Linked DNA regions of Homo sapiens: regions 2, 3, 4, 5, 6 and 7 are each linked to region 1. Evidence: promoter capture Hi-C in 16 types of primary human blood cells and fetal thymus (Javierre and others, 2016). All regions are on one chromosome and are shown on one strand. Each heading gives the region's core, a stretch centred on a gene start or on the middle of the fragment in contact. The rest is flanking DNA. Distances are from core to core; before and after follow the strand shown.

Evidence for each region. The method cuts DNA at HindIII sites, captures the fragments that hold promoters and counts their contacts. A CHiCAGO score of 5 or more calls a contact.
Region 2: a fragment that was not itself captured here is called in contact with the fragment with the promoter of ZBTB2 in region 1 in 4 of 17 cell types (non-activated CD4 T cells, total CD4 T cells, naive CD8 T cells and 1 more); the score reaches 7.4 in non-activated CD4 T cells.
Region 3: a contact is called between a fragment that was not itself captured here and the fragment with the promoter of ZBTB2 in region 1, in 4 of 17 cell types (naive CD4 T cells, total CD4 T cells, activated CD4 T cells and 1 more). The highest score is 6.5, in naive CD4 T cells.
Region 4: a fragment that was not itself captured here is called in contact with the fragment with the promoter of ZBTB2 in region 1 in 11 of 17 cell types (non-activated CD4 T cells, naive CD8 T cells, total CD4 T cells and 8 more); the score reaches 21.1 in non-activated CD4 T cells.
Region 5: a fragment that was not itself captured here is called in contact with the fragment with the promoter of ZBTB2 in region 1 in 7 of 17 cell types (naive CD4 T cells, fetal thymus, total CD4 T cells and 4 more); the score reaches 14.1 in naive CD4 T cells.
Region 6: a fragment that was not itself captured here is called in contact with the fragment with the promoter of ZBTB2 in region 1 in 6 of 17 cell types (total CD4 T cells, naive CD4 T cells, naive CD8 T cells and 3 more); the score reaches 10.5 in total CD4 T cells.
Region 7: a contact is called between a fragment that was not itself captured here and the fragment with the promoter of ZBTB2 in region 1, in 6 of 17 cell types (total CD4 T cells, non-activated CD4 T cells, naive CD4 T cells and 3 more). The highest score is 13.8, in total CD4 T cells.

Annotation. Positions count from the first base shown.
Region 1 is chr6:151,389,988-151,393,597 of GRCh38, reverse strand. It overlaps ZBTB2 (zinc finger and BTB domain containing 2), which reads left to right and starts at 2,039. Exons shown (of 3, transcript NM_020861.3): 1 at 2,039-2,178. LOC124901232 (translation initiation factor IF-2-like) reads right to left here. Exons shown (of 3, transcript XM_047419613.1): 2 at 3,126-3,610; 3 at 1-2,893. The coding sequence ends at 1,994. RefSeq lists an enhancer at 1,154-2,026 and silencers at 2,008-2,067, 2,078-2,467, 2,548-3,477. The HindIII fragment of the contact is 3,903 bases long and covers 819-3,610 here.
Region 2 is chr6:152,334,339-152,337,948 of GRCh38, reverse strand. It overlaps SYNE1 (spectrin repeat containing nuclear envelope protein 1), which reads left to right. Exons shown (of 146, transcript NM_182961.4): 76 at 932-1,108. Among named protein-coding and RNA genes, the nearest start is that of SYNE1-AS1, 44 kb to the left of the region's middle. The HindIII fragment of the contact is 183 bases long and covers 1,661-1,843 here.
Region 3 is chr6:152,316,904-152,320,513 of GRCh38, reverse strand. SYNE1 (spectrin repeat containing nuclear envelope protein 1) reads left to right here. Exons shown (of 146, transcript NM_182961.4): 85 at 1,499-1,651; 86 at 2,251-2,433; 87 at 3,528-3,610. Among named protein-coding and RNA genes, the nearest start is that of SYNE1-AS1, 62 kb to the left of the region's middle. The HindIII fragment of the contact is 2,676 bases long and covers 687-3,362 here.
Region 4 is chr6:152,294,550-152,298,159 of GRCh38, reverse strand. The region is part of intron 93 of SYNE1 (spectrin repeat containing nuclear envelope protein 1); the gene reads left to right. Among named protein-coding and RNA genes, the nearest start is that of SYNE1-AS1, 84 kb to the left of the region's middle. The HindIII fragment of the contact is 5,328 bases long and covers 1-3,610 here.
Region 5 is chr6:152,274,817-152,278,426 of GRCh38, reverse strand. SYNE1 (spectrin repeat containing nuclear envelope protein 1) reads left to right here. Exons shown (of 146, transcript NM_182961.4): 98 at 147-338. Among named protein-coding and RNA genes, the nearest start is that of SYNE1-AS1, 100 kb to the left of the region's middle. The HindIII fragment of the contact is 7,041 bases long and covers 1-3,610 here.
Region 6 is chr6:152,247,268-152,250,877 of GRCh38, reverse strand. SYNE1 (spectrin repeat containing nuclear envelope protein 1) reads left to right here. Exons shown (of 146, transcript NM_182961.4): 105 at 1,616-1,717. Among named protein-coding and RNA genes, the nearest start is that of SYNE1-AS1, 130 kb to the left of the region's middle. The HindIII fragment of the contact is 965 bases long and covers 1,138-2,102 here.
Region 7 is chr6:152,229,919-152,233,528 of GRCh38, reverse strand. It overlaps SYNE1 (spectrin repeat containing nuclear envelope protein 1), which reads left to right. Exons shown (of 146, transcript NM_182961.4): 113 at 1,264-1,413; 114 at 1,962-2,138; 115 at 2,827-2,982. Among named protein-coding and RNA genes, the nearest start is that of SYNE1-AS1, 150 kb to the left of the region's middle. The HindIII fragment of the contact is 1,358 bases long and covers 1,117-2,474 here.

The sequences.
Region 1 (3,610 bases), core at 790-3,289:
TGTGGCTGCCTATGCCTCGAGAGAATGAGCAGCAAACCAGCCCAGTCCTAAATTCGAATAGCAGCTCTTAAAGAGAATAGGATGCTCTTGATAGGCTTTCTTTAGGACTGATATTCAATTTCTGGGCTTACCCCTGGGTTTATTTCTACAAGCCTATATAGAGTGTAACGCTAGAAAATATTCAGTGATGTTAAAAATAAGCATAGTTACTTTGACTCAAGACCAATTACTCTACACACACAGGCAAATTTCTGCCCAATGGTCTCAAGTTTAGCATTAGTTTTGCCCACTTTTTCTTTTATTCTTAAGTCAGTTTCACTCTTCACATGAGCACTCCACCAACACCATAAGGTTGAAAATTTTCAGAATGGAATTCCAAAAGAATTAAGAACCTACAGATCTCTAATTACAATTCTCTACAAAACAATCAACATCATTTTAGTTCCCTAGTAAGATGAGACAGACCTCAATACTCAAGCCAATCCAAGGAACCAGGCACCAGTCTGAAGGCCAACTTTGATATTCCAGTGACAGCGGTGCAGTAGAATACTTAGATCAGGGTCAGAATTTGGTTTTGGAGGCAGACATTTACCCACTAAAGTCATTTATCTAGCTGATCAAAAAACAGGAAAGTTCAAAGCGAGTATACACTGAATCTATTATCCATTTGAGAGCCACTGAAGCTACACAGCTGCTTATTTTGTCTTCAAAGAAGGAATTAGTCATCAGTACCTGCAGGTATAACTGGATTTCTAAATCAAACTCAGATTTTTAGGAGGGACACTTCTATGTATTAAATTGTCTTAAGATGGTAAGCTTGCCTTAAATGATTTGTAAACTATGTGCCAGGCATTGTGCTAGTGGTCAGACTGTGTAAACCAAAATGGGTTAGACATCACAACCAAGTTAGCATGCCTTGAAACCAGAGTATCCTAGAAACTGCTGCCTCCACTTCCTTAGGAATAAAGCCATATCCTTTCTAAATCTCAAAAAATCCTAGATGTGTAAAGAAATCATTAAATTCTAGTCCTCAAAGGACTGTATTTCCCCAAAAAAGACACGGATTCTAGAAAAATGGCAACAACCAAAAAGTAAACTTTAAAATGTTAAAAATGACCATCAGGAAATTCTAACTTCCCTGCCATGTTTCCGTGTTTCAGGATCTCCCCGTTAAAAGATTTTCCACACCTCTAAATCTAACAGAATAGCCAACTCTGGAATCCATACCTCAAAGACCAAAACCTAACAGGAGAATAAACTGTTCTCTTAACAAACATGCGTTGCAGACTTTCATTTTTGGGGGGGCCAAAACTTCAAAAACGAAAATCGTTGCTGAAATAACCATGAAATTCAACCCTAACAGAAACATCTTACGCCGCTCAACTCATCTGCAAGGTAAAGGAAGCACCTCTGCCTCTGTGCACGCTACAGGAATCTGTACTTCAGCATGACTTTCAGTTACCATTGGTGACACAAAGATACTGCTGGTTTACAGTATCTCCCCGGTTCTAAAGGCCACTCCATTTCAAGTCTTAAAGATTAAAACAAACACGAAAAGTCAAGGGACAAGGGTAAAGGCCAAGAGATCTCAAGCAGAAGCCGGCAGAAGGATACGAGCAGTGGCTCTCCATCTCTACCCCGAGCATCTCAAGGACTTGTGCTACCTAAACACTTTATGTAAACAAGGGGCTTGTGACTCAGGCCTCCAGCCCCAATAGGTGGAGAGAAGTTTCCTCGCCTCGGCTGCACATGGTCTGCAGAAGTTTGGCTGGAGCAGAGCGCGGAGCCTGGGTGGGAGCGGCAGTGGAGTGCTGCAGGCGGCGGCGGCGGCGGCAGAGCAGCAGGAGGCGGAGGCGGGCGGGGGGAGGGGAGCGGCTGGGGGGGGGGCGGAGGGGGCTCTTGCCGCCACTGCTCTCTCGCCGCCTCTCCCCCCCGGCGGGAGCCGCTCGCAGCCTCTTTGCACTAGTCTCTCCGCTCTCTCGGTCATGTGACCTTAACGTAACCGGACAGGAAAAGCCCCGCCGCCGCCGCCGCCGCCGCGCCGGAGACACCGACCGCGGCGGCAGCAGCAGCAGCAGCAGCGAGAGGCAGAGGCGGCGGCGGCGGGGAGGACAGCACGGCCGAGGCTGCCCAGAGGCGCCTCCTCCACACCCCCCGCCGCAGCAGCACCGGCGACAGGTAAGCGCGCACCGCCTCCGCCTCCCGGGGCCGGTGCCCACGTGCCACCCCCAGCCCAGGGTCCGGGAAGGCGGTGGGGGGGCGGGGGCCACCGGAGCTCGCAAACGGTTCCGGCAGAGGCGGTGGCAACAAAGACGACGAATGACCCTCGTACCAGGGCTACGGGTGCAGGCAGGCGGAAGGCCCGGGCCACTCGGGGACCCGGTTCTGGGAAGCGAGGGCAGGGGCGCCTCGCGGGGGCGGCGGCGGCTGCGCCTGGCGCCGGGGCTCTGGCCGCTTGACAAAACCATCCCCCGGAGCCAGGCGGCGGCGAGTCGGCGGCGCCTCCATCCGGGGTTTTGTGGGAGGGGGAGGGGACGGAAGCCGAGAGGGCGGGCGGCGGATCGGAGGGAGGGTGGGAGGGAGGAAGGGGAGGGGGGCGATTCGCGTTCGGTTCCCCGTGGCCGGTCCCTCCCTTCCCGCCGCCACCGCGAAGTGCGCCCTGGGCGGCGGCGGCCGGTGAGCGTCCCGCGCTGGAGCCCTCAGAGGCGGGCCCGTCAGGTGCGTAATCCTTCCGACGCCTCGCCGCCGCCTCCTGCTGCTGCCGCCGCTGCTGCTTCGGCGGCAAGGCCGCGAGCTGCGGAAGTGGGTTTGGGGGAGGGGAGGGAGGAGGGAGGGGGAGGGGAGGGATCCGGTCCGACCGGAGCAGGCCCGGCCTCTCTGGCGCTTCTCCCAGCTGCAGCGGCTCCTACAGCTGCTGCCGCTACTGCTGCGGCTCCGCCTCCCGCTCGCGGGCGGGGGCGCGCACGCGCGCTTCCGGCCTCCTCGGGTCTCGCGCTGTCTCCGGCTCTCGCGCGCGCTCATCCCTCTCCCTCTCTCCCTGTCTGGGCCACCCCCGCCCCCGGCGCCGGGGCTGTTGCGCCGGCCGGGGCGTTGCGCACGGCGTAGGCGTCGGCATTGTGTTAAACTCCGCGGGACTTGGGGCGAGCGCGCGCGCGCACGCGGGACTGAGGGAAGCGGCGAGCGTGCAACGCGGCCGGAGTGCGTCGCCCCTCCCTCCCCCTCAGCCCCTCGGGGACGGGGACAGGGAGGGGGCGGGGCCGGCGAGACCGGAGGGGGCCAGAGGGCCCCGGCGCCGCGCCCCCGGCCCCGCCCCGGGGCGGGTGGGACGAGGTGGCTGTTGCGGCGCGCTCAGGCGGGCGGGGGACGCGTCGGCCTCTGTGGCGCCGCCCTTGTCGCCTGCTCGCTGAGGCTGCAGGCCGGGCCCCAGTCCCGGGTACGGAGCGTGTTGAGCCGGCGGCCTCCAGCTTCCGCCCGACGCGCCATCTGCGCCTGCGATACAGCCCGGTTTGGCCCCGAGCGCGCTGTGCTTTCGGCTGCTTAGCCTTGGGGCGTGGGACCCGCGCGGCCCTCACGCCCCAACCGGACTCCAAGGCGGGGAGGCTGCTTCCCG
Region 2 (3,610 bases), core at 503-3,002, 940 kb before region 1:
CTCGAATTCCTGAGCTCAGGCAATCCACCTGACTTGGCCTCCCAAAGTGCTAGGATTACAGACACGAGCCACCATTCCCAGCCAATGTAACCCATTTATTTTTACAGAAATGATTTATTGAAACAAATTACACAGCTTCAAAAACCAGTGAAGCAGATCAAAGACATATCCAAAACATTAATAATTCAGCATGTTGTAAGACAGATGAACAAATGTGCAACAGAGAATAACAGAAGTCTTTTCTAGTTAACCTTAACACCAAATTCATGAGTCATACAGATGAATCTACTGAAATGCCCAATGGGAAAAACCATCAGAGCAGCTTTAGACCTAATACATTGATAAAACTTATTAGAGTTTCGCTGGGCGCAGTGGCTCACTCCTGTAATCCCAGCACTTTGGGAGGCCAAGGCGGGCGTATTATCTGAGGTTGGGAGTTCGAGACCAGCCTGACCAACGTAGAGAAACCCTGTCTCTACTAAAAATACAAAATTAGTTGGGTGTGACGGCGCAAGCCTGTAATCCCAGCTACTCAGGAGGCTGAGGCAGGAGAATCACTTGAACCCGGGAGGCAGAGATTGCTGTGAGCCGAGATCGTGCCATTGCACTCCAGCCTGGGCAACAAGAGCGAAACTCTGTCTCAAAAAAAAAAAAAAATTATTAGAGTTTCACAACACTGATTAAAACCATATAGCATAACTTGTAGACATTTAAAGTCTTTAGGAACCCTACATTTTTTTAAAAAAAATCTGCTTTTCCTGAAGCAAATAAAGAAGTACTTTTTAAATTTATGTATTTGTGTGTGTGAGTTTGCGTGTGTATGTGTGTGTCAAATGAGTGCACAGGCCAGCTGGAAAGTTCCATCTCTGATTCATTAACCATAAATGTTTCCATGTATGGTTGCTAACTTTTATCTCTGTGTTTTCTCAAGATTGAACAAAAGCTTGTCCAGGCCCAGAACTTAACTCAGGGCTGGGAAGAGATCAAGCACCTGAAGTCTGAGCTCTGGATTTACCTGCAAGATGCTGATCAGCAACTGCAGAACATGAAGAGGAGGCACTCTGAGCTGGAGCTGAACATTGCACAGAACATGGTTTCACAAGTTAAGGTGGGAATTAATTTGCCCCCAAGGGAGATAAAAGAGGCCAACAGAGTAGAAAACCTGAAATGTGTTCAGTGTATTCACTTCAATATGCCTGAGTGTCTGTCAATCCTTAGACATTAATACAACTCTTTAAGGCAGAGGTCCCCAAGCCCCAGGTTATGGACAAGCACAAGTCCATGTCCTGTTAGGAACCTGGCCGCACAGTGGGAGGCGAGCAAGCATTAATGCCTGAACTCCACCTCCTGTCAGATCAGAGGCCACATCAGATTCTCATAGGAGTGCAAACCCTACTGTGAACTGCGCATGCAAGGGATCTAGGTTGCATGCTCCTTATGATAATCTAACTAATATCTGATGATTTGAGGTGGAACAGCTTCATCCTGAAACCATCCCCCTCCAGCCCCATTCACGGAAAAATTGTTTTCCACAAAACCCATCCCAGGTGCCAAAAAGTTTGGGGACCGCTGCTTTAAGGAATAGCAAATCTGAACAAACATCATTTGGTGCCAGGGAAAACAGATTATAAAGTAGACATTCAAATATATTACTGAAGCTTCAGATGGCCACTTTCATCAGAAGACATTCATACTCTACATTATTCCTGAGAAAAGCAGGTGTGATTTAGTCTACAGAGTAGACTGCTTAGTCAGAAAACTCTGTGACTAAGCAAACATGGAACATTATTCTTTTTTTAGATTTTCATCACCATATTATGCTAAAACTGTAGGACTGTAAGCTTATCAATTCATTAGTTATATATTTGAGCTATATGTAATTAATTTAAAGTATAATATAAATGCAGTTTGTATTACATATTTATATATAATTTAAATAATTTAAAATATATAGGAAATTGTGGCCGGGTGTGGTGGCTCATGCCTGTAATCCCAGCACTTTGGGAAGCTGAGGTGGGCAGATCACTTGAGGCCAGGAGTTTGAGACCAGGCTGGCCAACATGGTGAGACCACATCTCTATTAAAAATACAAAAATTAGCCTTGCGTGGCACATGCCTATAATCTCAGCTACTTGGGAGGCTGAGGCACGAGAATCATTTGAACTTGGGAGGCGGAGGTTGCAGTGAGCCATGATCATGCCACTGCACTCCAGCCTGGGCCACAGAGTGAGACTCTGTCTCAAAAAAAAGGGAAAAAAGAAAATTATAAGTGTATTAACTTAATTGGAAGTTGGGTCAGATTTTAAATAAACTTAAAGATGTTTTTTCTCTGTGATTATGAGTCAATAATAATATATTGTCTACTGGAGTGCTGTTTGCAAGTACAGAGAAAAAAGAGAATAGGGATCGGGATAATAAGATTTATTTTTTCTCAGAAGCATGAACTCTTTTTTAAAAAAATTTGTGAACCATCCTAGAAATTTAATTTTTTAAAATGTATTTTATAAGAAAAGTTTTGTTTATTATAAAAGGCTTAGAAAATACAGAAATGTCTTAATAAGCAAATTTAAATCACAATCACTTATGATACTACCATTCAGAGATAATAAACAATGCCAATATTTTGCTGTATTTGTTTTAGATATACACATAATAAAAACATTCAAGATGATACTCTTGTTAACATTTTAATTGTGATTGAACCTAGCTTTAAGGACAAAATTTCATATATCAGTCAGGGGATTTAAGAGGTGTTTTTTGGGTAGTGGGAGTAAATGGCAATGGGAGTGAGCAGTGGGGAAGTATGGAAGTCCATGAACCAACCCCTTGGAGGAAACACTATCCAAAGAAATGATCCTCTGGCCACATATTGGGCTGGCAGAGATGGTATCTTAGAGGTTTCTTTTTGCTGTGTATGCAGGGAGTAGATGAATCTAAACCATTGCCTTTCCACTTTGCGAATGTACTCCAGCCTTCCCCAACTCTGTACATAACACCACTGCCCACCTGGTGACCCAAGCTACTTTGCCTTGTCTCTGACATTTGGAAGGTTTCCGTCAGAGGCGTTCAAACCAGAGCGACTCCATCTTGAATAGGGGCTGGGTAAAATGAGGCTGAGACCTGCTGGGCTGCATTCCCAGAAAGTTAGGCATTCTTAGTCACAGGATATTTAGTTAAGGGAACAGGTTAATAATGTTTACTGAACAGATCCAGAACTTGACAGATCCAGGACTTAGCAGACCTAGGAAATGTCCTAATGTCCTGATGTCTTGAGAATAAAAGCACCCTTAGTTTAAGAATAAATTTTGAAAAACATGAACTCCTTAAAAATTCTTAGAAAACAAAGGCCGCACTTCAAGGTAAGATAATGACTTTTTTCATTAATGACTGTAATGTTTCACATGTATTAGTTTTTCTTTATGCCTCTTGGAATAGTACAATAAAAGAATATACCACAGCTACCCTGAATCTTGCACACGTGGGAATTAACGTTCATAAAGAGGTATGGTGATTTTTAGATTTTCTCTTTGTTTCCCATAACTTATTATACATTCTTCAGTTTTTTTCATATTAAGGAACTTAGAGTGTTTAAAGGTCTTATGTCTGTGTT
Region 3 (3,610 bases), core at 775-3,274, 930 kb before region 1:
TTGGTGGCTTAATGCTAAAGCTATTAAAGTTTAATGAAAACCCTTCTATATGAGACAAAGAGAAGACATACTACAATTCTAAATTGCTACATGAAATAGAAAGTAATATCCCATTGTACAAACTGTAAAACTCATACAGTTGTGCTCTACTTTTGGAATCTTCAATGTATGATGCAAAGTGTTTTAAAAATCTCATCAAAATCTGATCCTACTGCATCATGACTTTGACCTAAACTACTGATAAATGCTCTTTACTATTTTAAGTATTTAATTGATATATTTGGCTTTTCTTCTTAGACATTGGAAGATCTACTGGGAAGGATGACTTGGCAAGTTCATGGTCTTTTTATATTTTTGAGACAGAGTCTCGCTCTGTCCCCCAGGCTGGAGTGCAGTGAAACAATCTCAGCTTACTGCAACCTCCTGGGTTTAAGCAGTTCTCGTGCCTCAGCCTCCCAAGTAGCTGGGATTCCAGGCATGCACCACCATACCCGGCTAATTTTTTGTATTTTTAGTAAAAAGAGACAAGGTTTTGCCATGTTGGCCAGCCTGGTCTCAAACTCCTGGCCTCAAGTGAGCTGCCTGCCTCAGCCTCCCAAAGTGCTGGGATTACAGGTGTGCACCTCTGTGCACAGCCATGGTTTTTCTTTGTTTGTTTGTTTGTTTTTTTAGTTAAAATTTAAGCTTTTCTCTGGATTAATTTTCCTATCATAGCCTTATTCATATGTATTTCATTTACTTTGACACTCAAAATAATGAAGGCCAAAACACACCATTAACTCTCTTTTAATGGTGTGTTTTCTCCCTACTAAAGAGGTTTTTTTAAAGACCTTTAACTACATAAAGAAATGTTTCTTCTCTTTAATGTCTTTTCTTCGGCATTTTATTCTAAGCAACAGTGTGAATGTTTGTTATCAAATCAAACCAAAGTCACTGGAAATTTGTAAATGCGAACTGTCTTTTTTCACCTTCCTTTCCATTGGATGTACTTAATGCTTGGTTGGCATACTATAGAGCTGTAGTCGGAAAGTTACAAAAAGAGTTAACAGATCATTAAGAGTCATTTATTAAAAGGTGCTTGGAAACAAATCAGTGTGCTTCCAACTGTTTGGGAGGATTTTCCATCTTATGAAGAAAAAGGCTTAGAGGAGTTTGTGTGCTCAAGGTCATTACGTTAGTTAATGGAGAAGATAGGATTCAAACTCAGCTGTCTACACAACCATCTATAATGAGTATTCTGTAAATATTTAATAAGTGAATTTCTCTACACACATTGCTTGTATCTTTGCTGGAACACAAGGAGTGCAGTAAATACTTAAAGATAGTGAAGTCAGGGAAAGCCAGGAGGGCTTGTAACTAATCGCACATCGCTGGTGTGACCAGGTGTTTCAATGCCAAAGCAGTTAAAATGTGTCTTGTCAACATCATTTGAGATTTTTAGTATCTATTATTCACTTTTAACCATGGCTTGTTTTGCTGTTCTTACTGATTTTTTTAGATCCAAGACAAAATAAAAGAAGTTGAGCAGAGCAAGGCCACGAGCCAGGAACTCAGCCGGCAAATTCAGAAGTTAGCTAAAGACCTCACAACTATTCTAACTAAGCTGAAAGCGAAGACAGATAATGTAGTTCAAGCTAAAACTGACCAAAAGGTAAGAAGTAGAATTTTAAAGGGTACTACTGAATGAATTAAATAGTTTTTGGAGTCAGTTTTACTTGGGGATATAGGATAAAAACCTTTTAGGAACCTTTTTTAAAACCAAATAGTAACAGCAGGTGGTAAAGAAATTTTGTAACTGAAGCAACACAGATCCTCTTACATAATTGATCATTATAATTGAACAGTATTAATAAATATACATGCATGAGTGTGTACGAAAGAAGAGCGTCAAAGGACTAAGTGATGATTTAGGAATACAAGTATATAAATTCCAAACTGAATTGTGTCCTTGGTAGCTAAATCTGTGTTCTTCCTCTGTTGATGAGTTCAGGGACTCTAATCCTTTTTGGGTGGGGCAGAAGGAAAATGTTAGCCTTCTCACTCAGCCTCATAGGAAATAAACACCAGCATTACAACATATCCTGCCCTGCCTTTCCAACCGAAGAAACAAAAATGACCTGATCATAGTAGAATTATAGTAGAATTATTCATTATAATATTTGGCTTTGACAAAAATCAGTCTGATCTCGGGAAACCTGGAGAAATTTATTTTCTGTACTCTAATGTTCTTTCATTTTGGTGACCATCAAGGTGCTGGGAGAGGAATTAGATGGCTGTAATTCAAAGTTAATGGAATTAGATGCAGCAGTACAGAAATTCTTGGAACAGAATGGCCAACTGGGTAAGCCACTGGCCAAGAAGATAGGAAAACTGACTGAACTTCACCAGCAGACCATTAGACAAGCTGAGAATCGGCTCTCCAAGCTCAATCAGGTATGTGTTCCGGGCCAGAAATCCAAATCGTGTAAGGCAGAAACTTCCATGTTCTGCTTTTCTCTTTTGAAAATAAATTAACATAAATAAAAAGATAAAATGGACAATGAGAGAGTAGTTTAGGTGTAGCTTATTTCATGCTACACTTGTGATCCTAAGACTTAGGTATAAACCAGCACTTACTTTATATCCAGCCATATGATAAAGTCACTGACAAAGGTGGTCCTACAAATGGACTTTGGAGTGAATATTTTGTAAAATGGAGAAGTATTTTGTAGAATGAATATTCACCCATTAACGTGTTTTATGAAATCAGTTTGGGGTGAATTCAAGTACCTTTAAGTAAGCTACATATATATCAGCTTACGTTGACTTAATAGATTCAGATTGCACGTCTGTAATAATTGTTGCATATAGACTAGACTTTTGAAATCGATTAATATAATCAGGGACAAGTTAAAACCAGGAGTTGGTAACCCATTAATTATAGTTTGAAACTTTGCCTGCTAGAATCCCCACTTGCCACCTCCTTACCCAGGGGAGGGTGAAGGAAGGGATAGAGGAAGGCCTGGCATGGTGGCTCATACCTATAATCCTAGTACTTTGGGAGGCTGAGGCAGAAGGATCACTTGAGCCTAGGAGTTTGAGACCAGCCTGGGCAACATGGTGAAACCTACAAAAGATTCAAAAATTTAACAGGGCATGGTTGGCACGTGCCTGTGGTCCCAGCTACGTGGGAGGCTGAGGTGGGAGGCTGAGCCCGTAAGATTGAGGCTGTAATTAACCATGATCCAGCTGCTGCATTCCAGCCGGGGTGACAGTAAGACCTTGGAAAAAAAAAAAAAAGAAAAAAGAAAAAAGAAAGAAAAAGAGGAATAATTCAATCATATTAAGAACTTGAGCTTTATCCTAAGGTCACTGAGAAAGCTTTGACAGATTTTAACAGGGAAACGATCTTTTGATACCATTGAATATCATAGGTATTATAATGATCAACCCCTAAGACTGTTGTGTCCAAAGAGAGAGAAGACTGATTTATAGCTCAAGAAACTGAGGAGTTTACATTTGTTACATTAATGTTACTGGTTTTTCAGGCAGCATCACATTTAGAAGAATACAATGAAATGCTTGAATTAATTTTGAAGTGGATTGAAAAAGCTAAAGTCTTGGCTCATGG
Region 4 (3,610 bases), core at 530-3,029, 900 kb before region 1:
TGTGACATGAATCGTGAAAGTGCTTTTTAAACTAGAAAATACTGATCAAATAGTAGCTACAGTTGTCCAAATTTATTTCCTTAGGAATCTACTCATAAGTCTTATAACTTAGGCACATAAGCAATGAGAAACGTATTTGTAACAGTGACTCCTCACTACATCAAGTATTGACTTTAGTAGTTATTTATAGTACTGAGTGATTTATTTTAATTCAATTTATGTATGTACCTCAAATAAATAGAAATTATTCATCTATAAAAGGTGACATATTTTCAAATCCTTTTAAGAAACCAGGAGTTGTCATTCATATCTGTAGGCATGAGCCACGTGCGCGCGCACACACACACACACACACACACACACACACACACACACACAGAGTGAGACTGCCAGAAAAAAATTATTTGTAATAAATTTATTTTATTCTAGCTCTTTTGGGAGCCTTCTGTATTTATAATAGAGTATCTAATGTAAAATGTTTACACCATTTAAAGGCATTCCTGCTTTTCCTTATGGACAGTAATAGTATTACTTTACATGTATATAAAATAATAGAATTTATATAAGTGCATTTACAAGCATGATTTATTATGAACATATAGGCCTGCCTGTTATTTGCCAAACACTCCACAATGTGCTCAGGATGAAGACGAAAAGCAGTGACCCAGACAGCCCTTAGGGAGCTTACAGTGTGTGTGAGGACAGGCAAATGCTTACAAGAGAAGGTGGCAGGTAGTGTGGCCGAGGGCAGTACAGTGTTGTGGGAGGGCCTAGAGAAGGCACCTAAACTGGCTGGAGTCAGGCAGAGGTCAAGGATGGCCCCCTTTAGTTTTAAGGGAGGAGCACAGTTAGGCAGTTGGAGTGCAGTTGGGTCGTGTGAGATGAAGATTTTCAGGCAGAAGAAACCACCTGTTGGAAGCTGTGGAGGCGGGAAGCAAAATGGCCCATCCAGGCAACTGCAAATAGTTTCAGTGTAATTGGAGAAACATTGGAGGAGGAGGAGAGGGGGAAATGAGACTGAGAGGGATATGGGAACCACATCATGGAGGCCCTGAATGCCACAGGAAGGAATTTCAGCTTCCTCCAGAAGCTAATATTTAACCACTGAGGGAATTTAATGAGAAGCTGTGTACAGAACTGATACTTCTGGATCAATGTGGACAGGAGAATAGAAGTGTGCAAATTCAGAGCCAGGGGAGCTGTTAGAAACAGAAGTTACACAGTCTCATGCTTGGTCCACCCTGGTGATAAAAATGAGAGAAACAGGCCAGGAGGGACTACAGAGGCCAGGAGGGACTACAGAGGCCTGGACAGCTCCTGCTCCACATAAATGAGGCAATGTCTCCTCTGTTAGCATTACTTTAACAAAGACACAGGGCCCAGTGTTACCATACCTTGTGGTTTGCAAAACAAGCTACGAATGTGAATTTTAATGAAATCTCTCTATCTTCATGAAGAGAGATTTTAAACAATTTAAAACATTGTATAAGCCACACTAAATATGTGCAGGTCAGAGGCAGCCCACAGGCTGCCAGTTTGCAACCTTTGAGTTAGGAAGCTGTTACTGTAATGAGAACTTGAACCAAGGCTGTGGCCAGGATATGCATCGTTAGCACTCCATCCTCCCATAAGCAGTGGATGTTAAGGGGGAGGAGAAATCAGGAATAAATCCCAAGTTTATAGCTTAGGTGAGAAGACATTCCATTTATTGCAAGATGGATAATACTTCATTGTTTTTTCCTAAATTGGTTCCTTTTGGAAATGTTGACTTTGAAGAGCCTACAGGATATGCATGAACATCTGGATATGTGAGTCTGGAGCTTATCAATTCACCAATATTGGCGAGTGAGTGGAAAACAAACTATAAAAGAGAAAGAGTGAATGACTAGAAAGCTGGGAGGAGAACAGAGAGATTTTTTAGAAAGTGTTTCCGGAAAGGGTTTGTCAGTGCTATTGAATGCTAGAGGTCTGGCAAGGGAAGGGATGAAAATTCATCATTTTTTGTCAAAGAGAAGAAGCTGGTGAGAGCAAGCTCTGCAGTCATCAGGATCAAAGTCCAAACTGGAATTTAGAAGTGGATCGAGGGTGAGAAAGTCCCATGAAAATCACCCTTTCAGAAGTTGGATTATGAAATGAAAGGGAGAAAACAAAGAAATTAGGATGGAGCCTGTGTGTGCAAGTGCATTCACGTGTGACGATCCGTCACATTGTGAACTGTGGACTTTTTAGAAAATGTGATATCCTTCAAGAAAACAAATAAAAGAAACAGTGCGTGCAGGTGTTTTTGGATGGAAGAGAGAAAGTCAACAAAGCCAGAGAGGATGTTAATAGACCAAGATCCTTGAAAAAGCAGTTTATGGGATTCTCAGAGTCTGTGGGAGAGTCAGGTTTAAGCAGTGAAACTGGAAAGCATAAGATAAGGGTGAGTGTGAATATACATAGACTTTTGAAAATTTGAGAAGTTGCAGTATCTCCTTGACAGCTTGGATTGCATGTGTATGTGTGTGTGTGCGTGTTTGTGTGTGTATGTGTGTGTGTGTGTGTCAGTAACACACACACATGCATAAATGACTCTGGATTGAGTCATGTTTGCGGGTTTCCAAGTGGATGAAGTAAAGGTTAAAAGAGCAAGAGAAACAAGAGTCTTGGCAAGAAAGGGGTTTAAGTAACTTCAGACATAACTACAAGTCCAGCTGAGCGATGACAGCATACAAGGGTGTGGAGGACTGAAGTGGGGTGGGAGTGAGTGAGGATCAATGGATCTAAAGCTATTAAGGACATGAAGAGTAATCCACTCAAGACAGTGACAGGGTTAGGAATAAAGAGGAAGCAGTCTCCATGTTCCAATATCATCAATAAATGTTGGGGACTCATCTGGAGACCTCAGGAACAACAACAAAATGGGTAGAAGCTGTCATAGTCACTCAAATATTATTTCATATAATCCTCAATCCCACCCAAGATTGGACCAATGAGTGAACCAGTGTGCAAGATATAAGTTATTTGCTCCAATTATATAGCTACACAAGAGGAGAATTTCGCTAGAATCTCAGCTGTCCCAGTCTGAATTCATTCTACCGCATGACACTGCTACATTTGTTTCTCAGACGGCTGGAGCCTTCTTCAATACTTTTTACCAATACATGATTCTCAATAAGACTCAGGTATTTTAAGCTGACATAATTCCCTTCAACAGTACAACTGCAAAAGCAATGAACTTTATAATAGCAATTACTCCCCCAATTAAATTTCTACTGAAATACAGATAAATAACCATAGAAACAGTTAAAAACCATCTTTACTATATCTCTTGATATATCTTTACTATATCTCTTGATATAGTAAATTTTATCAGTACAAATAAAATATGTAATGTTATAATAGGTTTAAAAAATTTGAAAGCATGATATTTCATCATTCACTTTGTTTTTTTTGTGTGTATACTTTTAGGAAATGCATAGAAAACCTTTATATTATTTGTTTCTTAGAGTAGTGGTAACTTCCCCATTACATTTTTCTTATTTAATATCAAAATATTTAAATTAATTCAGCAAATGATGAACCCACAGATAGTGAAGATCTGGCTGCATCTGTAGATTTAATTTTATTT
Region 5 (3,610 bases), core at 363-2,862, 890 kb before region 1:
CGTCAAGGCCGTGGGAAAACTACAAAAAATCATGAAAGCCTGTCCGTTTCGTAAAAGACTCCAAAGGGCTGTATTTCACTGTGGGAAACAGTCTTTGCAGAGGCTGGGGAGATGTGTGAGTTTCATTCTTATTTCTGTTGCTGCAGAATATGCTGGTGGAAATAGAGCAGAAGGTGGTGGCTTTATCAGAACTGTCAGTCCACAATGAGAACCTGCTGCTGGAGGGCAAAGCTCACACCAAGGACGAGGCCGAGCAGCTGGCTGGAAAGCTGAGAAGGCTCAAGGGGAGCCTGCTGGAGCTGCAGAGAGCCCTGCATGATAAGCAGCTCAACATGCAGGTGAGGGTTCCAGCCGCTGGCCCACAGCTGAAAGTTGGCACACTGTTCACGTGCTCCTTCTAAGGTTTGCCAGGTAAAGGAACAGGTTGGCGGTGACGCGTACTTGTGTGTGTACCTGCTTTACGCTGACATTTTAGCATGCAGCTTTAAGTTTACACTCTTGGACTTTGGCAAACATTTGCAAATAGATTTTGTTAGGACTACTAACAACAGCTGTTCAGCGGAGTGGTGGAGGCAAAAAGCACTCTGACATGAAAGTAACAATGAGAGGAGAGGAACTGGAGAGGGAAAGTAAAGGCTACTCCAGGAGTGTTGCTGTAAAGTGGTATATAGAGGAATGAGATAAGCTATAAGGAGAAGTGGGTCAAAGAAAATTTTATCTCTTTTTTTCTTTTACATTCATCACAATTTGAGTATTTCATTTTAAGATCAGAAAAATAATAAGTTTACACGTTGATGGAAATAACTCAATAGAGGAAAAGTTGGTGAAAAAGGAATGTGGGCAGGGCGCCGTGGCTCACGCCTGTAATCCCAGCACTTTGGGAGGCCGAGACAAGCAGATCACTTGAGGTCAGGAGTTCGAGACCAGACTGGCTAACATGGTGAAACCCCATCTCTGCTAAAAATACAAAAAAAAAAAAAAATTAGCTGGGCCTTGTGGTGGACACCTGTAATCTCAGTTACTCGGGAGGCTGAGGCAGGAGAATTGCTTGAACCTGGGAGGTGGAGATTTCAGTGAGCCGAGATTATATCACTGCACTCCAGTCTGGGCGACAGAGCAAGACTCTGTCTCATAACAAAAAAAAAAAAAAAAAAAAAAAAAAGAAAAAGAAAAAGGAGTGTGATTGCAAGAACAATCTTCTTGTTGGGGAGGAAACGGATAGGATAAAAAGTACACAGGCCAGGTGCGGTGGCTCACACCTGTAATCCCAGCACTTTGGGAAGCCAAGGCTGGCAGATCATGAAGTCAGGAGATGGAGACCATCCTGGCTAACACGGTGAAACCCCGTTTCTAATAAAAATACCAAAAATTAGCCGGGCATAGTGGTGGGCGCCTGTAGTCCCAGCTACTTGGGAAGCTGAGGCAGGAGAATCTCCTGAACCTGAACCTGGGAAGCAGAGGTTACAGTGAGCTGAGATCGCACCACTGCACTCCAGCCTGGGAGACAGAGGGAGACGCCGTCTCAAAAAAAAAAAAAAAAAAAAAAAAGAGTGCAGAGTTTGGTCTTCCCTACCCTTCTTGCTAAGTAAGCCAGGGACCAAATAGTTTAGAAGCCCATTAGCTGCCCCAACCCTATAAGCATCTGATGGTATCATCTGCTCCTTCTTGTGGCCTAATCCAAACTGTGCCTTCCTTTACCATTTACACCTTTCTCCTGCAATAATGGTTGAGACCAGGCCAATCTGTTCTCCAAGTAAAATGAGGAGGGAGGGAAAGCATCTATGTTGGAATACAAATACTGGTAGGAAGTAGGACATAAATATTGTTAACGGAAACTTCATGGAAGTTCACTGTGATTGCTTCTGTTTTCTCAGTGTGAGGATGATTGTTAGGACTAACCTATGTATTTTTTTTTTCGGCTTTTTGCTGATGATATGATTATATGATATGGAAAACCAAACTTAATCAACTAAAAACTATTTAGAAGCAATGGAGAAATTTAGGAAGATGACTGGCTTATTAAAAATATGAAGTTAGGTCATTGAAAAGCATAAAAGAATCCAACAAAAAATAAAAATTAAAAAATGAAGTCAGCCGAGCACAGTGGCTCACGCCTGTATCCCCAGCAATTTGGGAGGCCAAGGCAGGTGGATCACCTGAGGTCGGGAGTTTGAGACCAGCCTGGCCAACATGGTGAAACCCCATCTCTACTAAAAATACAAAAATTAGCCGGGTGTGGTGGGGCATGCCTGTAATCCCAGCTGCTTGGGAGGCTGAGGCATGAGAACTGCTTGAACCTGGGAGGCAGAGGTTGCAGTGAGCCGAGATTGTGCCACTGTGCTCTAGCTTGGGCAACAGAGTGAAATCCTGTCTCAAAAAAAAAAAAAAAAAAAAAAGAAGTCGAGAATTTATAGTTTTTACATAGACAAAAAACAAGTTAGAGGAATAATGTAATATCCCATATAAAATTTTGAAAATGAAGAGTTTTGAGGGATTATTAGTCTTATCATATATGTGTGTGGATTTTTTTTTGTTTTTTTTTTTTTGAGACAGGGTCTTGCTCTGTCACCCAGGCTGGAGTGCAGGGACGCAATCTCAGCTCATTGCAACCTCTGCCTCCCAGTCTCAAGTAATGCTCCCACCTCAGCCTCCTGAGTAGCTGGGACTATAGGCGCGCACCACCTGCCTAGCTAATTTTTTTAATTTTTTGTAGAGATGGAGGTCTCTCAATGTTGCCCAGGCTGGTCTTCAACTCCTGAGCACAGGCAATCCACCCACCTCAGCCTCCCAAAGTGCTGAGATTATAGGCGTGAGCTACCATGCCCGGCCAGTCTAATCACATATTAAAATACAATATTACAATAATTAAAATAGTTTGGTGTTGGCGCAATAAATATGTGAACAGAAAATTAAACAATAACTATTCCAGAAAGAGATTTGGTATGTAAAGGAATTTGATAAATATTTTAGGTGGCATTACAAATCAGTGGACAAAATATGACTCACTCTGTAAATAATCACTTGAAACGTGATAAACTGTATTTTCTACCCCATATTTTACAGAAAAATGTATCACAGGTGGATCAAAGATTTCAATATAAAACTTAAGTCTGCAAGGTACTCAATGTATGATTTTTTTTTTTTAATCTTAGGATAGGGAAAACCTTTGCCAGTATACCCCAAACCCATAATTTTATAGCTTCTTTTAAACTAATACATTGGCAGGGCTTGGTGGCTTATGCCTGTAATCTTAGCAGTTTGGGAGGCTAAGAAGGGAGAATTGCTTGAGCCCAGAAGTTCAAGACCAGCCTGGGTATCATAGCAAAACCCCATCTCTACAAATAATAAAAACATTAGCCGGGCGTGGTGGCACACGCCTGTGGTCCCAGCTACTAAGGAAGCTGGGATGGGAGAAGCTGGGAGGAGGTGGGAGAATCCCTTAAGCCCAGGTGGTTGAGGCTGCAGCGAGCTATGATTGTGCCACTGCACTGCAGCCTGGGTGACAGTGTGAGACGCCAACTAAAAAAATAAACAAATGGGCCATGGCTCCCACCTGTAATCCCAGCACTTTGGGAGGCTGAGGCAGGTGGATCACCTGAGGTCAGGAGTT
Region 6 (3,610 bases), core at 371-2,870, 860 kb before region 1:
AGCTACTCATTTAGATTAACTGGACGAATGTCACTATACACACATATGTAGATAATGTAGGCTTCTGTTCAAGTGAATGCAGGACATCTTTTACTAGGTTTAAAAACAGATAAATGTGTGATGGTTTTAATGGCCCACGTGACCTTACTCTGAACACAGTTGAATGATACAGACCTAGTAACTCATATGTAAAACTATTGTTTCTAGGATTTTTCCAGGGCTGTTATTATAATTTCCTATTTAGTTAGCCACTAGACTTGCAGATTGCTTTGAGTTTTGGTTAGTGGCAACTATTCTAGTTCTCATGTTCAGCGCTATATTTTCAATTTTATAATTTTTACTGCATAATGCACCCATTATTTTGCTTTTTAGACCTGAATTTACATTATAAAGCCTTCACATGTTCTTATAGATGTTTTTCTTCCTTGGTACGATTATCCTTCCACTCATTAGACAGTCAGAATGTTTGCATGTTGGTGATGTGCGTGATCAGGCCCTGGTAAAGAGGTCCTGAGTTGAGCTTTAACCTCTGACAAATATATTTTTGCTGACTATTATGAAATAGAACTTATTTGTTGATATTTTAGAGAAAAAAATACATTTTTTTGGTAATTTTTTTTTTTTGAGATAAAGTCACCCAGGCTGGCATGTAGTGGCGTGATCATAGCTCACTTCAACCTCAAACTCCTGAACTCAAGGGATCCTTCCACTTCAGCCTCCCAAGTAGATAGGACTACAGGCATGCCACTGTGTCCACTTATTTTTTTTTTAAACTTTTTGTAGAGACCGGGTGCACTGTGTTGCCCCGGCTGGTCTTGAACTCCTGGCCTCAAGTGATCTGCCTCAGGCACCCAAAATTCTGGTATTACAGAGATGAACCACTGCACCTGGCCAAAATTTTTTATAATTTAAATATTCTTCTAATTTATTATTCCCTGTGGAATTAAGTACCAAAGTTCTGATAGTTGTCTCCTTTTTATACAAATCTAACTCAATATAAATATATTTGGACATTTAAATGAGTAATATTTTTGAACAAAATACCTAACAAGATCTTTTTGTGTTGTCTCTTCACATGTTTTTGGCCATCATGGATAATATTTATTTTCTAAACTTCTGGATGGCTTTTTTAAAGCTTGTGCAAATTTTCCAAAAATAGAAGAAGAAACTGATGGAGGGAGGGAAGAAGAGGAGAGAGCAAAATGGAAATCATATGATTCTTAAGTATCATATTATTTCCCAAATCAGGATAACACCTATAGGTTATTTCCCTAGATAAGAGCCACTAATATAATATTTCTGTGCAATGTTTGACTGTGCTCATTTATTTCGGATGTAATGAGATTAGGGTGACAAGCGTTGCTTTTTACATGTATGGTTCAACTTCATTTGTGTTATGTAGAAAATACTTTGGGTAACAGATTCTTCAGGAGTCAGTTTTAGCACATAAGTAAATTGTTACCAGTTCCTTTTACCTTCCCATAGCACAGTATTGTTTCTCCTGGAAATTAAATTTCTGTGCCTCTATGTTATTTCTTAGAATCTGTGTTATATTTACAAGTATTTTGAATTCCCTGTTACACATTTTGAGTTTTCCCGTTGCTTTCCTCCTTAGAATGATCTGAAAGTGCTGTTTACATCACTGGCTGACAACAAATACATCATTCTGCAAAAACTGGCAAATGTGTTTGAACAGCCCGTAGCAGAACAAATAGAGGTATTTATAGCTGCCTTTTCCTAGAAGAGAAAATGCATAGAGGAGATATGACTTACTATGAAATTTTGAATATTCTATGAAAGATTAATGGCTCACAGTGGCACTTTTGTTTGTAGTATTTTTGTTTTTGAGTACTGGGTTTGAATAACATACCAGGTGACATTGACTCTGTTACTTACATCTGCACAGAACTAGGAAATGTGAGCTGGGAAAAGGTATCCATGGCAGATGCTGACCTGAAGGAGTTTTCTGCCCAATGATGAGATTAGATATGAACCTCAATGACATAGGGCAGAAAGTCAAACTGTCCTGGGAGTGGTACTGACAAAGCATTATGGGTACTCAGACCCTTCTGGCCTCCAGCAGGGGTAGGATTAGGGAAGCTTTGTAGAGGGAAATTTGAACTGAACCTAAGAGTTTGGACACACAACAACAGGAAAGAAAGATATCACGGTAAAGAGGACAGCAAGAAAAAAGGCACAAATTGTTAGAGAATTCTGAGCACTTAGGGAAAAACACAGGTAATTCTATTTTAGCTGAATTTAAGATAAATGAAAGTGACTGAGGACAAACAAGATTGGATATGTAAATTTAAGGCAGTTTGTAGGGCCTGTTGAATGTGTGACTTTGGACTTTATTCTATAAACTAGTTACCTGTACACTTTATTTGTTGCATGCCTCATTAGCTAAAAAAAAAAGGAAATAAATATGCAGCATAAGTGTATGTATTTTTATTTATTTATAAATTATAAGCAATTTATGTTATAAATCACAATTAAATTCAGCCAAATTTATTTTCAATTTTTGTTTGTGTACATGCTACAACCAAAATTGAAAATTAATGTGGTTGAATATAAATGAAAGATGTGGTGTTTCATCCTGGTAAATCATCTTGCACACTCTTGGGTGTTTAGACTCAGCTGGGAGATCCCTGGCCATGGAAAGTTGTAGGGGATGTTTGCAGGTAAAAATGAATGGCAGTTCTAGATCTTGCTTCTGGTTAGTTTACATGACAGCACCAGGGTCAGGAAACAGGAGATCCATCATGAGGCTTCATGTAGCTGTACTGGAGAGAAAGAATGAGAACCCAAACTGGCATGATGGCATGAAAATGCAGATAGAAGAAATGGGAGGGATGTTAGAATATCTCCTGTTTCATAAGCTAAGTAATTGTGAGAAGTATGTGTTTTAATAGAATTCTCTGATTTAATTTCAGCGAACTTCCCGGGAATCTATGGATAGACGATAGAGAATAATCTGACATATAATATGTGTGTGTGTGTGTGTGTGTGTGTGTGTGTGTGTTAAAGAACACCTCTCAAAATAGTTTGCAAAACTGTGAGTGTGCATTTTTCTTTTTATTTATTTTTAAAAATATATGTGTGTGTGTGTGTGTGTGTGTGTGTGTGTATATATATATATATATATATATAATAAAAAATATATATTTTAATATGGAGATAGGGTCTCACTTTGTTGCCCAGGCTGGTCTGGTCTTGAACTCCTGGGCTCAAGCAGTTCTCCCATCTCAGCCTCCCAAAGTGTTGGGATTACCGGTGTGAGCCACCGCATCCGGCTGTGCATTTTTCTTGACCATAATTTCATCTGCTTTTTAAAGAGATTTCTCATTTCTCCCCATGAAAAATCTTTTTGTTTTTTTTCTTGGCTTATAATGTATGTGTGATTCCAAAAAAGACTGGAGCAACTGTAGTGATGTCTTGCTTTGGATTTCTAATATGAATTATGAGATATGTATGATCACAAGTAATAATTTTTACTAATTTTTGACCAATATAACTGAATGTCACAGATGAAGAAATAACCAGTTAGATTTTTTTCTTTGAATAAATGGAATGCAACTAATGAACGTGCTAATTCCATGCCTACCCAACT
Region 7 (3,610 bases), core at 546-3,045, 840 kb before region 1:
ACACGGTGAAACCCCGTCTCTACTAAAATACAAAAAATTAGCCTGGCGTGGCGGTGTGCGCCTGTAGTCCCAGCTACTCGGGAGGCTGAGGCAGCAGAATTGTTTGAACTGGGGAGGCAGATGGAGTGAGCCGAGATCGCGCCACTGCACTCCAGCCTGGGTGACAGTGAGACTGTCTCCAGAAAAAAAAAAAAGAGTGAACTACGCTACAAAGCCCTGCCCCAAAGGCATTTCCTCTGAGGGTTTCTTTAATGTGTGTATGTGGGTGTGGGTATGTGTATTGGAATGTTTGTCTGGCTTTGTTTAAACTCTGTTTTGTCTCAGATAAAATGTGGACAGTTACATACACTTTTCTCATAAAGTGAGTGGTTATGAAGATTTAGAACGTAATATATGTTAAAAATATCTTATGTATAGGAGAGCAACTGGCATTCAGTAGATGTAAATAATCCTCTTATCTGAAAATACACCCACCTCCCCTGAAATCCCAGAACATTTTATCTTTATCTCTCTTTGACACTCATCACTGTGTTTCAGGCAGGATAGCTGTGTTTTGTGTACATGCCTAATCTCTCCTAAGCAACAGCTGTGCGCCCCCAGAGGGCAGGAACCAACCCACGTTCATTGCTATATCTTTCAGCACCACACAGAAGTTGATATACAAAGATTTTAAATGATTGCTTTTGTTCCTCCAAATCATCGTAATACACATATGCATAAATGTGTGATATGTTAAGTAAGATTTCGAATTGTAAGTAGTGTATATCAGCTAAGGGCTGAGGAAATTGGCTATGTTCTTAGGAATAAAGATTAGAGTGCCAAAAACTCTAGAAAATGATAGCTTGTAGTGTGGTATTTTTCTTTCTTCTTTTAACATTCCTGAGTCATAATATGCAGAGATTTTACAAGATAATTAATAAAATACATCTGTTGAATGTTTTCTGGTTAAGTTTTTTTAGACTCATAAAACTAGTTATAAAATAAGAATAATATTCTCTTCTTTCTGGTGCTTTGATTAATTAGTTAATGTTTATACAGTGTTTACAGTATTGGATATCAAGTGAACATAAAATGACTATTATTCCTCAACATTTGCCTGATGTTTAACTTCAAGCTTTCAGAAAGGGTAAGATCTCCAAATGTCATTAAGGAGTGTTATCTCTCTTGGTACATTTTTAAGAATTATTGTAGGGTTTTTAAGTTAGCAGAAGTTGGGGTTTCCATTTTAACACTTGGGACTGGTTCTCTCCCTGACTTGGACAGCTCCAGATGGATAAACTGCCTTCCCGCCATGCCATTTCTGAAGTCATGAGTTGGATTTCTCTAATGGAAAATGTTATTCAGAAGGATGAAGATAATATTAAAAATTCCATAGGTTACAAGGCAATTCATGAATACCTTCAGAAATATAAGGTAATTAAAATTTTTTGTTTTTAACTTTTCATATTTTCAGACCATTTTATTTGAAAGAACTAAAAAACTCAAATTATGGTAATCAAGTCTTGGAATGTATGTTTCCTACACAGTGACCAGATAGGAATTCAATAGCAAGAAAAATGCATTATCAGTTATAGAAATAAGAAGAAATATCCAGTACTAGGAATGATTTTGAATAATTTTGTGTTATTAAAGAATTACAGAAATTATAAAAATAAATTTATAAATATTTTATAGTGAGGTTATATAATTTATCTAGTTCTAAATCTTCTACCTAAATATATATATACACACACACACACACACATACACACGTATATCTGTGTTTATGTTCATATAAACGTATACAAATATATATTCGGCTTCTAAAAATAATGGGTTGTGTGAACACAGACAAATTGTGCCATTTCAGCTGAGTTATGGAAGTGATAATATTAATATTAAGGTTACTTAAGGCTTTCCAACTCCTGGAAAACTAATGAGACATTTATTGTATAATCTTATTTTCTCCTCTTTTTTTTTAGGGTTTTAAGATAGACATTAACTGTAAACAGCTGACAGTGGATTTTGTGAACCAGTCCGTGCTACAAATCAGCAGTCAGGATGTGGAAAGTAAGCGTAGTGATAAGACTGATTTTGCTGAGCAACTTGGAGCAATGAATAAAAGTTGGCAAATTCTGCAAGGTCTAGTAACTGAGAAGGTAAGCCAGTGGCTTCCCACTGTCCAGATTTACATGAAAACCCCAAGAACAGGCACACTCTGTAAGGAAGACTGGGTTCACAAGTAGCGTGGCTATACTGGGCAAAGAACGCTTCCAATAATACCGCTGAAGGTTAATCACCCTAAACTTCCTTTAACCTGTTGATGATTTTCTCTTATACATTCTCTGCTCTTTGTATATTTTATGGTGTTTCAGTTTTCTAAAGATGCCTCTTGATTTATTTTGCCTTTGCTTCAAGTTGACTTTAGTCCTTTCTTGCTTCCCAGTAATAGTCATTGATTCATACTTTATGAAATTCATTTATTAAATCAAGCTTGCCCAGCCCGCGGGCTGCATGCGGCCCAGGACGGCCTTGAATGCAGCCCAACACAAATCCGTAAACTTTCTTAAAACATTATGAGATTCTTTTGCAATTTTTTTTTTTTTTAGATCGTCGGCTATTGTTAGTGTTCGTTTATTTTATGTGTGGCTCAAGACAATTCTTCTTCTTCCAGTGTGGCCCAGGGAAGCCAAAAGATTAGACACCCCTGTTTTAAATCATATATACGATGAACTGTATTTTAAGAATTCTTAATTTGGAGAAAATACTGGCTAGAATAATTAGTCTGCTAATGATTTGATTTTATTAAAATAAAGTTGCAAATTTCATTTTATTGTGTTTGTTCAGATCCAGCTGTTGGAAGGCTTATTGGAATCTTGGTCAGAATATGAAAATAATGTACAATGTCTGAAAACATGGTTTGAAACCCAGGAAAAGAGACTAAAACAACAGCATCGAATTGGAGATCAGGCTTCTGTTCAAAATGCACTGAAAGACTGTCAGGTAACTTGTCCAGGTGGCTAACATGCACCATCTCACAATTTCATAGCGTATGCTAATATGTTTATAGGCCTTGAGAGTTGCAAGTTAAATATTTTTTTAAATATTTAAAAGTTGCATTTAGTAACAAATTTTGCTGATTTTGTGAGTTTATAGGGTTTTTTTTAAAATACATTAGGTTTTTTTCACTCGTTTTTAAAAATTTGAAATTATGAAAATTTTCAAACATACTCGTAAGTAGAGAGAAATGCTATGAACCCTGTATACTGAGCATCAGATTTAATAATTGTCAAGATTTGCAGCCTGGGCAACATGGTGAAACCCTCTCTCTACAAAAAGCTACAAAAATCAGCCAGACGTGGTGGTGCTTGTCCCTGTAGTCCCAGCTACTCAGGAGGCTGAGGTGGGAGGATTGCTTGAATTCAGGAGATCGAGGCTGCAGTAAGCCATGTTTACACCATGGCACTTCAGCCTGGGTGACAGAGTGAGACCCTGTTTCCAAGAAAAAAAAAATTGCCTAAATTATTTCTTTTTCTAAAATAGATATCATAGTAAATACCAGACATCATGTCACTTTATTCTTACATACAATATATATCTTTGAAAAATAGACATTTTCTTAATGCATCCA